2 separate regions of the Homo sapiens genome follow, and region 2 is linked to region 1. The links are contacts of gene promoters, found by promoter capture Hi-C in human tissues and cell types (Jung and others, 2019). All regions are on one chromosome and are shown on one strand. Each heading gives the region's core, a stretch centred on a gene start or on the middle of the fragment in contact. The rest is flanking DNA. Distances are from core to core; before and after follow the strand shown. Region 1 holds the start of HOXB9 (homeobox B9). Region 2 overlaps LOC105371808 (a long non-coding RNA gene).

What was found. Contacts are between HindIII fragments. The study calls those that stand out against the background at their distance.
Region 2: a fragment that was not itself captured here is called in contact with the fragment with the promoter of HOXB9 in region 1 in 2 of the 25 tissues and cell types used here (H1 embryonic stem cells and neural progenitor cells).

What each region holds. Positions count from the first base shown.
Region 1 is chr17:48,624,324-48,629,151 of GRCh38, reverse strand. HOXB9 (homeobox B9) reads left to right here and starts at 2,794. Exons shown (of 2, transcript NM_024017.5): 1 at 2,794-3,399. The coding sequence starts at 2,883. HOXB-AS4 (HOXB cluster antisense RNA 4) reads right to left here and starts at 454. Exons shown (of 2, transcript NR_046611.1): 1 at 294-454. RefSeq lists a silencer at 1,698-1,853 and an enhancer at 3,264-3,941. The HindIII fragment of the contact is 6,922 bases long and covers 1-4,828 here.
Region 2 is chr17:48,521,056-48,525,883 of GRCh38, reverse strand. LOC105371808 (a long non-coding RNA gene) reads left to right here. Exons shown (of 4, transcript XR_934811.2): 2 at 2,992-3,087; 3 at 3,319-3,520. Among named protein-coding and RNA genes, the nearest start is that of HOXB1, 7.5 kb to the left of the region's middle. RefSeq lists enhancers at 3,093-3,615, 3,463-3,757, 4,582-4,828. The HindIII fragment of the contact is 5,868 bases long and covers 1-4,828 here.

The DNA.
Region 1 (4,828 bases), core at 1,545-4,044:
CATTTACCTGGACGGCAAAGAGCTGGGATGCAGACTACAGGGCTTAGGGGCCAGTTCATTCTCTTTCCTCTGGAGTCATTGCTCCCTGAGAAGACCAAGACCTCCAAAACCTGTCATTTTAAAATTGTCTCCACTCTCCAGCTTCTTCATGAGCAAAGGCTAAGTTCCGATCTCAGAAAAGAGGCCTAAGTCCCCTTCTCACCCAGCACTCAGGAGCCACCAGGGAATAAAGGGCAACTCCTCAGACAGACAGCAACCCACAAACCCAAATCTTGTCTGCTGGGAGAACTCACCCTTGTAGAGCACAAGCCATCAGCCCAAGTGTTCTTCTTCCTCTAACTTCTTCCCTAAACTGAGTGGTCCTCTTGACTCCTCTCTTGTTGCAGAGAGGCAGCTGCAAAGTCAGGGCAGGAGAGGGAAGGGGAACCAGGAAGACGGCAGTCAGAGCGCAGTGCCTGCTTTGCTTGGGTCTTAAGGACAGCCCAGCGCTGTGACTTTTCAATAAATAAAAAAACCCCAGTCCGTAGTAAACATGTCCTTTTAGGCCCTAATTTATATACTACAGAAATCATATACTCAGCCCACCATGCTTCATAACACCATTATTTATGGCGGGGGAGGGAATCTTTTTTCCTGAAGAGTGTATTTATGACAGGTAAAGCCAACAGCAGACTTCATAGGGCTGGCAAATTGAGAACAGGTGCTTTGCCTTAACTGTGATTCATTCGCTCAGTGCCCAGCTTTTTCGCTGGTGAGTCCGGGGAGCTCCCTCGACTTTCCCAAGCGTCCAACCTCTGCTTGGAAGAATTTGCATCGGATTTTTGTTTCCCCACTTGGGTCCTATGGAAAAGGCAGACCTTCATGCTGTTTGGTTACGGATCTGCCGGGCTGTCACCCTCGGAGAGCAGGGGTGGGAAAGGAGGGGGCCAGATGGGCGCCGGCATTGATCTTTAAAAAATCATTTTGAAATCGCCATAATGTGAAGAAATATGGCGCTTCACCCTCGTATTTCACGTGTAATGACACGAGATGGCTTCATTTGGAAAGACAAGCGGGTGGGAGTGTGTGCCTGTGTGGGAGGTGATCCGCAGCCTTCTACAAGGCAGAGGGGTAGGTGGCCAAAAAGATACGGACTCAAGTTAGAGTGGCCCCTCTTTTGCTAAAAGGACCGGACTGAGGGCAGCCTGCCTTATTAGGACTCAGAGTCAGAGAGTTGCCGAGAAATCCACCCCAATCTACCCCTGAGCCTAACCAGAGGAGAACTGGGTCTGTCCAGGGGTCACACCTCCCCAAGTGCCAGGAGAGGCGACTGCAACCAGGGCAGAAGCTGAGGAGCAGGGGCTGGGAGAGGAGCGAGGAAGCCAGTCGGTGGGCCCCGGGGGAGTCCCTGTGCAGGGCCACAGAATAGATATATATAAAAAGGGCTATTTGGAAGCTCCAATGAAGGGGTCTGCAGGGGGTAAGGCAGTGAGGGGAAGAGACTGACCATGGGCTCGCTGTCCACACTGGCCCCTATATCGGTGTTTGGAAATCTCCAGAGCAGGAGCCTCAGGTGAGAGGAGTAGTACAGGAGGGCTGAAAACTCAGCCCAGGCTCCTTCCTCTTTGGATGGAAGGGGAGATAACTTGGGACCCCTTCCCTTGCTGACTGGGGATCCTTTCCCAGGCCTCTGCTCTGGTCACACCTCAGGAAAGTGGCCTTAACCCTTTCTCCTATTTAGCTCCCTCATCAGGGCAAATTTAGGGGCCTGGGTGGTTATTCAGTGGAGAAAAGGAGAAATGGCTTCCCTCACCCCCACCCCCCACGTCACCACCACCATCTTAAATCCATCCTTCTGGCCAGAGTCAGAGAAAGGCCCAATAAATGTAAAGGCGCTCTGGTTCCTTGTATTAAACTCTTTCCTAGGCTCACGTTTCCGGGACCTGATGGATCCCTTTAACCTCAAGTAGTTTCTAATTTCAGGACAGATAGTGGATTCTTGGACACTCAGTCGTTTTATTCACCTCTCTCCTCCTCCCTCAGCTACTGAGGGGCCCAGGGAAGCTCGCAGTCATGTAAATCTCTACAAAGAGTGCAAGGAGAGCCCCCTCCAAAGCGGACAACGTCCTAAAATCCCCAACTTTTCCCCTCATCATTTTACTTCATCTCCTGTGGATTGCTGCTGCTGTTGTTGTTTAATAAACATCTTTTGTCAAGGGGAAAGAGAAGAGGAAATGAGGGCCTGCGGGGTGGAGGTGTGTGTGGGGGGACAGGAGCACCTCCTCTTCCAGTATCCTCTCGGGCCTCTATGGCTTCTCCCCGGGCTGGGGCTCTCTCCCTCCCTCCGCCCTTGCTCTCCCTCCCTCCCCGACCCGCCTGGGGAGAGGGCTCTACAGCCTGCGTCCCTCCCAAGGCAGCCCGCCGCTTCCCTCCGCCTCTCCTCCGCCCCCGCCGCCCCATGTTGAGAACTGCCCCCCTTCCTGCAGCGGGAGGGGGGGACCGGGCGGCCGGTAGCTGGGGCTGAGGTTACGTGGCCGCCGGAGCCCTGACGTGATAGCACATTGCATCAGCATAAAACAATCCATCCTCGATATGGAGTGCGGTGCGGACGGATGACAGCGAGAGCGCAGCCCCCTCGCCCGATTGATTTATGTCGGAGCTGACGCTTTATCAGGCAGTCGGAAAAACTTTGACCAATCATTTTGCAAGGAGAGCTGAGACGGGCTGCTCCACTGTACTTTGTTGGCTGAGAAGTTGAGCAGGGGGTGGGGGTGGGAGGGTGGGGGGCTGGGGGGGTCGCGTCCGAAAGCCCTCACACCGGTCCGGGTGCCACCTCTCCCTGCTTGGGCGCCGCCGCGCGAGCGCTTCCCTTCCCCCTGCAAGCGCCCGGATAATGTCTGAGAATGTCCATTTCTGGGACGCTTAGCAGCTATTATGTCGACTCGATCATAAGTCACGAGAGTGAGGACGCGCCTCCAGCCAAGTTTCCTTCTGGCCAGTACGCGAGCTCGCGGCAGCCGGGCCACGCGGAGCACCTGGAGTTCCCCTCGTGCAGCTTCCAGCCCAAAGCGCCGGTGTTCGGCGCCTCCTGGGCGCCGCTGAGCCCGCACGCGTCCGGGAGCCTGCCGTCCGTCTACCACCCTTACATCCAGCCCCAGGGCGTCCCGCCGGCCGAGAGCAGGTACCTCCGCACCTGGCTGGAGCCGGCGCCGCGCGGCGAAGCGGCCCCGGGGCAGGGCCAGGCGGCGGTGAAGGCGGAGCCGCTGCTGGGCGCGCCTGGGGAGCTGCTCAAACAGGGCACGCCCGAGTACAGTTTGGAAACTTCGGCGGGCAGGGAGGCCGTGCTGTCTAATCAAAGACCCGGCTACGGGGACAATAAAATTTGCGAAGGAAGCGAGGACAAAGAGAGGCCGGATCAAAGTAAGTTATAAAAAGTGAGGAAATACCCAGGCCGAAGGCCAGGAGGGGGGCGGGGAGGGGAAAGGCAATAAACTGCGGACAATGTGAAGGGAAACTGCGGCGGTGGCCGGAGAGCGGGCCGGGAGGAGGAGGGGAGAGGAAGGAAAGACGGAGGGAAGGGGAAAGCTGCGTGCTCTAGAAGGGGAGACTGAGGCCGCCAGAGGAGCGCTGCCCCCACTTCTCCAAGTCCTGCGGGGAACAGGGGCTCGGGGATCGACTTGCAGCTCTCTCGGCCCTCTTTCCCCCTCTCTCCCGGAGGCCCCAGCTGAAAGCCCGGCCAGAGACCGGCGACGGCCGGGAGAGGAGCTGGCGGGGGCCGGGGCCAGCGGCCAGCGAGGCCGAGAGCCGGCGAGGGCAAGGGCCGGAGCGCACTGGGCTGCCCGGGGCCGTGCGGCTGGCAGAGCTCCCCGCGCCACGCGCAGACCGTAAAAGCCGGCCAAGGGGAAGGGGGAGGGAGCTCATTAGGATTTTATTTGCGATGCAACAGCTTGGCGGAGGATTGTTCCTAGCAGATCTCGCGCTGTAGCCGCGCAGAGTCCGCAACCGGCGACAGGAGGGGCGGGGGAAGCCCAGGACGCGGTGACTGAGCCCCCTCCCCGGATGCGCCGGCCCCTCCCCGGGAGCCTTCCCTCCGGTGGCCCCTCTCCTCCTCGGCGTCCTCGCAGGGGCTACCGCTTCCTTTTCTGCGGTCCCCCGCTGCTCTCTGCGGGGCTCCCGAGCCCCAGCCCGGGCTGTCCGCCTCTTGGGGAGTCGGGGAATCGCTTCCGAATATCGGGGCATCTCGAAGGGACCCCGGGGAGAGGAGGGGTGGGGGGAAGAGAGAGTTGCAGAGAGGCGGAGAACTTTACCCTTTGTGGGTAGTTTCCCGTCACCTCCCACTCCTCAAAAGCACCCCGGCCAGAACGCCAAGTCTGGCTGATTTTCAGGAGGTGCTACTAGATGAGAAGAGAGGGTTCTCCTATTATTTATTTTTAAGGTTGAGAAGGGCTCATCGGTGAGGGAACTCAGCCTCAAACAATGACTCGCAGGCTGGTGGATCAGGTCCTCGTTTCTTACTCTTTTTGGGAAGTAGGGATGTTTTAGTCTCTCCTTGCCCTGCTAGATTTCCCATTGACGGAGTGGCCCCAGGGCCCTTTAGAGCATCCTTGCCTGCTGGAGAGTAAAGAGCAGCCCCATTCCTTGCAGGGTCCTGTCACCTCCAACCTGCCAGGTGGAATCCTAAGAGCTGGCATTTAGGGAACACATTCTTCCCCAACCCTCCCCGCACACTCCCAAACAGATCCCCCACCCTAAACCCCCAAATTCTGCCTGAAAAGCCCATTATGGCAAGGCAGCCATTTGGCTAGGATCAATTATTAACAGTTTTTTCCCTCTTTCATATTTAATGCGG
Region 2 (4,828 bases), core at 1,495-3,994, 100 kb after region 1:
GCATGCCACCATGCCTGGCTAATTTTTGTATCTTTTTGTTGTAGAGATGGGGTTTCACCATGTTGCCTAGGCTGGTCTTGAACTCCTGAGCTCAAGCAATCTGCCCGCCTTGGCCTCCTAAAGTGCTGGGAGCCTCCGTGCCCAGCCCTTCATTGTTAAACTTTCCAGAATAGATGCCAAATTGCTTCACTCATAGACTTCTTCATGTCTTTCAGATTGCTGTTTTTTTCATAGCTCTGGGAAGGAGGGTATTATATTTACTAGGAGGTCTGAAAGTAATTTTTTTTTTTTTTTTTTTGCAAAATTTGAAAGCTGTCCACCCACACCTCCATTTCCCAAATGTCAAAAAATATCTCCAGTTTGAAAACAAAAAGCTTGAGTTTTTTGAGTCTTGACTGTCTTTTTTAAAAATTTAATTTAAGAGATGGGGTCTCGCTGTGTTGTTCAGGCTGCTCTTGAACTCCTGGGTTTAAGGGATCTTCCCACCTTGGCCTTCCAAAGTATTAATACTGGAATTACAGACATGAGCCACCATGCCTGCCTAGTCTTCATTCTTCACAGGAGGGAGAATTCTCTAGGCTGGTTGAAAGTTTGTCAAGATTTCTGAGGAGCCCCCCACTCCCCACAAACCCGGGCATCAGGTAGGGAGCCAGTCAAGTCTTCACTCCACCCAATCCTCTGCACCATCTGTTTCTCAGCCAGAGTGTGAACTTTTCCTCTTTCCTTTGCCTTTTCCCTCAGCGTTTGTTCTCCCATTGTGAGGCCCTTTGATCTCCTGAACAAGAGAGAAAGAAAAAGATTTTGAAGACCCTGAAGCTCTTCTTCTTCTTTTTTTTTTACGGAGTTTCGCTCTTGTTGCCCAGGCTAGTGTACAATGGTGCGATCTCGGCTCACCGCAACCTCTGCCTCCCAGGTTCAAGCAATTCTCCTGCCTCAGCCTTCCTGAGTAGCTGGGATTACAGGAATGCGCCATCATGCCCGGCTAATTTTTGTATTTTTAGTAGAGACGGGGTTTCTCCATGTTGGTCAGGCTGGTCTTGAACTCCCGACCTCAGGTGATCCACCCGCCTCAGCCTCCCAAAGTGCTGGGATTACAGGCGTGAGCCACCATGCCTGGCCAGCCCTGAAGCTCTTCTAACTGTTAATGCAAGTTTCTTTTTTTTCTTTTCCTTTTTCTTTTTTTTTGAGATGGAGTTTGCCTCTTATGGCCCAGGCTATGTGATCTCGGCTCACTGCAACCTCCACCTCCCAGGTTCAAGTGATTCTCCTGCCTCAGCCTCCCAAGTAGGAGTAGCTGGGATTACAGGCATGGGCCATCCCGCCCGGCTAATTTTGTATTTTTAGTAGAGATGGGGTTTCTCCATGTTGGTCAGGCTGGTCTCGAACTCCTGACCTCAGGTGATCTGCCGGCCTCAGCCTCCCAAAGTGCTGGGATTACAGGCGTGAGCCAACACGCCTGCCCGGCCAATGCAGGTTTCTTTGTTGTGAGCATTCCTTGTGCAGATAGCACCGGGCTCCTGGGAAGGAGTTGGTGGGATGATGTTTAGAAGAGAGTGTGGATGGCAGGCTTGGAGGAATCTCTCCAGATGACAGACAAGGGAGATCAAAATGAGCCAGAGAGCAGCACCAAGGAGTTGGGGGACATGTCTAGGATATCTGGGTTCAAATCCAAGCCCTGCCTCTCACTAGCCCTGTGGCCTTGGGCAAGTTGCCTAATTCCCTGTGCCCAGTTTCATTATCTACAAAATAGGGATAACGACAGTACCTATTTCATGGGGTTGATGTTGGGATTAAATGAGTTAATATGTGTAAAATGCTTGGAATGGTCCCACATAAACAAAGTGAGCAATAACAAATTATTATCATTATTAAAAGGGACTGTGATCTTCCCTTCTATAGTCCCCAATCTCTTCCAGGGAGTATCTTGACTATGCCCACTTCTCACACTCATAGCTTATTTGATCCCTGATAGGTGTATGGAGCTAGAGACAAATGGAAGGGATTGCCCTCTTAGCAGCTGAGAACACTGAAGGTTCATTTGGCTGAGAAACCTTTTTGTTCTGTTCTCAGCGTACCCACCTGTCGAAGAGGAAAGTTATCCTGGCCTCTCACACTCATTCCCTCTCTTCTCCATTATAGAAGATGGATAAGAAGTCTGGAAGGCAGAAACTTCAATTCCCTGACTTAGGGTGGTGGAGAGCAAGGGTTCTGGAGTATAACTTAGTGTTCAGAATGGTCCCCTTTTATTAGCTGGATGAGCTCATGTGAGTTGTTTAGTTTCCCTGTGCTTCAGTTTCTTCAGATATACAATGAAGGATATTGAATAATACATGATATATATGAGAGATGCTTAGAACACTGCCTGGTGTATGGTGAGTGTTGAGCAGAGGCTTCCTATTTTACATAGTTACATAGGACATTTTCCTATTACTTTCTTACATTGAGTTATTCTTGGTCTTGGCATGATGAAAGCAGATGTTGTCCAGCCTTGGCCCCCCTGCGCTGTACCAGCAGACCCAGCCAGCACCATAAGCATGGGACTTGCTGCTAGACAGTAAAATAATTATGAATGAAAGGTTTCAGAGGAGTCCACAGAATACAGGCTTTACAGGCTTACAGTTAAGTACAGTATTATAATGAGGGATGTCCTTGACAAGACAGACTCATTGCGTAACTCGGGAGGGTATTCTCGTTGTAGTCCACGAAATTGGCGCCCCCTGCAGTTGTACCAGATTTTTTCCCCTGTGCCTCAGTCCTGGCTCTGAATTCCTTGCATGACTCAACCAGAGTATTCCAGAGGCTTCAGCTTTTGCTATTTCTGTGGCTCTCAAAATGCTTCCTATAATCAGAGTGTATCCTGGGTGGGACAAAAGTTGGAGATGTAAAATACTTAATGTCCATTCCTGGGAGAACATGGAGGCTCAAGTAGCTGCAGGATTCAGCTCCAAGGCTGACCTCCTGGCCCTCATCCACTGTTATTCTCTTCATCAGAAAAGAAATGGATCAGATGCTTCAGAGAAGAAATAATTTTGTAGGAAGTCAGGAGACCTAAGTTTAGTCTACTAAGACCCTTCCTTGTGTCCTTGGGTAAGTCACTTAACCTCTCTGGGCCTATTTTCCCAGTCTTTAATATAAGTTAAATTATCCCACTGCAGCTGGACTCATTCTTTCCTTTGAGGGTAGATGAAGACTTAGGTAAGAAAGAGTGTAAACTTGGTGGGAGATGGAAATAGTTGGGTGGAGAAGCATCCTGTTGGATGTATTTTACTGGCCTAGTTAGAGCTAATTAAAATCACCCCTTTCCTTCATCCTCTCCAGATCACTGGCCTGAGTCCAGAGAATTCTGAGCCCTGCAGCCCTTTCTGCCTGGAGGGGAACCGAGCAGGGAGGGAGCTGCACCAAACATGCGCCCTCTGCTCCTTAGAGGCCTGATGCTCCCTTCAGTTTACTCTGGCTTGACAGCTCCATTTCAACCCCCACCTTGGAGATGAGGCAGCTCAATATTTACTCAGCCAGAGAGGTTTGTCCAGAAGCCTGCCTCCCCAGCCTCCTCCTGTTGGCTCTGCTCTGTTGCCCCCACCCCCTTCCTTCCCGGTTCATAGAGAGTTCAGCCCTGCAATGGCTTGCAGCCCCCTCCACTCCCCAGCCCTGACAGAGCCGCCTGTCGGGGGACTGCTGAGGCCAGAAGAGCGGGGGAAGGGCACCAGTCAGTCGTGGGGTCATGTCCTGGTCTCTCCACCCTTACTGGACCAGCAGCCTAGGCCTCTAGAAGAAGAGAAGACTCAGCAAATGATTGTCTTTTGGGGGAAGAGTGCGTGGAGATTGGCTAAAATGGAACTGTGGGGTTGGGGACATGATCCAGGACTGTAAAAGCTTCACATAGCTGTGTGCAATATTATAAACCATGGTTTATGGTAGAGAAACTTGGTAAATTTGTAACAGTCTGAACTCTTTCCAAAGACACGAAAAGAGCTAATACAATAAATAAGTGACACTTGGGTTTTCAGCAACACATCTGAAAACTGATCTCTTATCTCCTAACATTCTAGAATGTAAGATCCATGAAGACAGGACTTTTTTTTTTTTTTTTCCTTAGAGACAAAGTCTCGCTATGTTGTCCAGGCTAGACTTGAACTCCTGGGCTCAAGCCATCCTCTGGCCTTAGCCTGCTGAGTAGCTGGGACTGTACAGGTGTATGCCTACTGCACCCGGCTAAGCAGGGATTTTTGTTTGTTTTGTTCCTTGTTCCATTTCCAGTGCCTATAACAATGCCTGGAACATAGTAGATGCTCAGTAAATATCTGTTAAATAAACGAATATTGAAGCAAAATTCTTCTGCCTAGAAGACAAGCACCCCAAAAATGGTGTTCTGAAATGATGTTAGGCTGGGCACAGTGGCTCACGCCTGTAATCCCAGCACTTTGGGAGGCCAAGGCGGGCAAATTGCCTGAGGTCAGGAGTTCGAGACCAGTCTAGCCAACATGGTAAAACCCACTCTCTACTAAAAATACAAAAAAAAAAAAAAAAAATTAGCCGGGCATGGTGGCATGCGCCTGTAATCCCAGCTACTCAAGAGGCTGAGGCAGAGGAGTTGCTTGAACCAGCAAGGTGGAGGTTGCAGTGAGCCGAGATCACGCCACTGCACTCCAGCCTGGGCGACAGAGTGAGACTCTGTCTCAAAAAAAAAAAAAAAAAAAAGAAAGAAATGAAGAAACGATGTTAGCTTTAGATGTTTGATTAGTCTAATAGTGCTATCATAATGAATATGTTAATATGAAGATATTTCAGACAGGGTTAGAGATGGATGAGGACTTGGGAGGCATTTTCT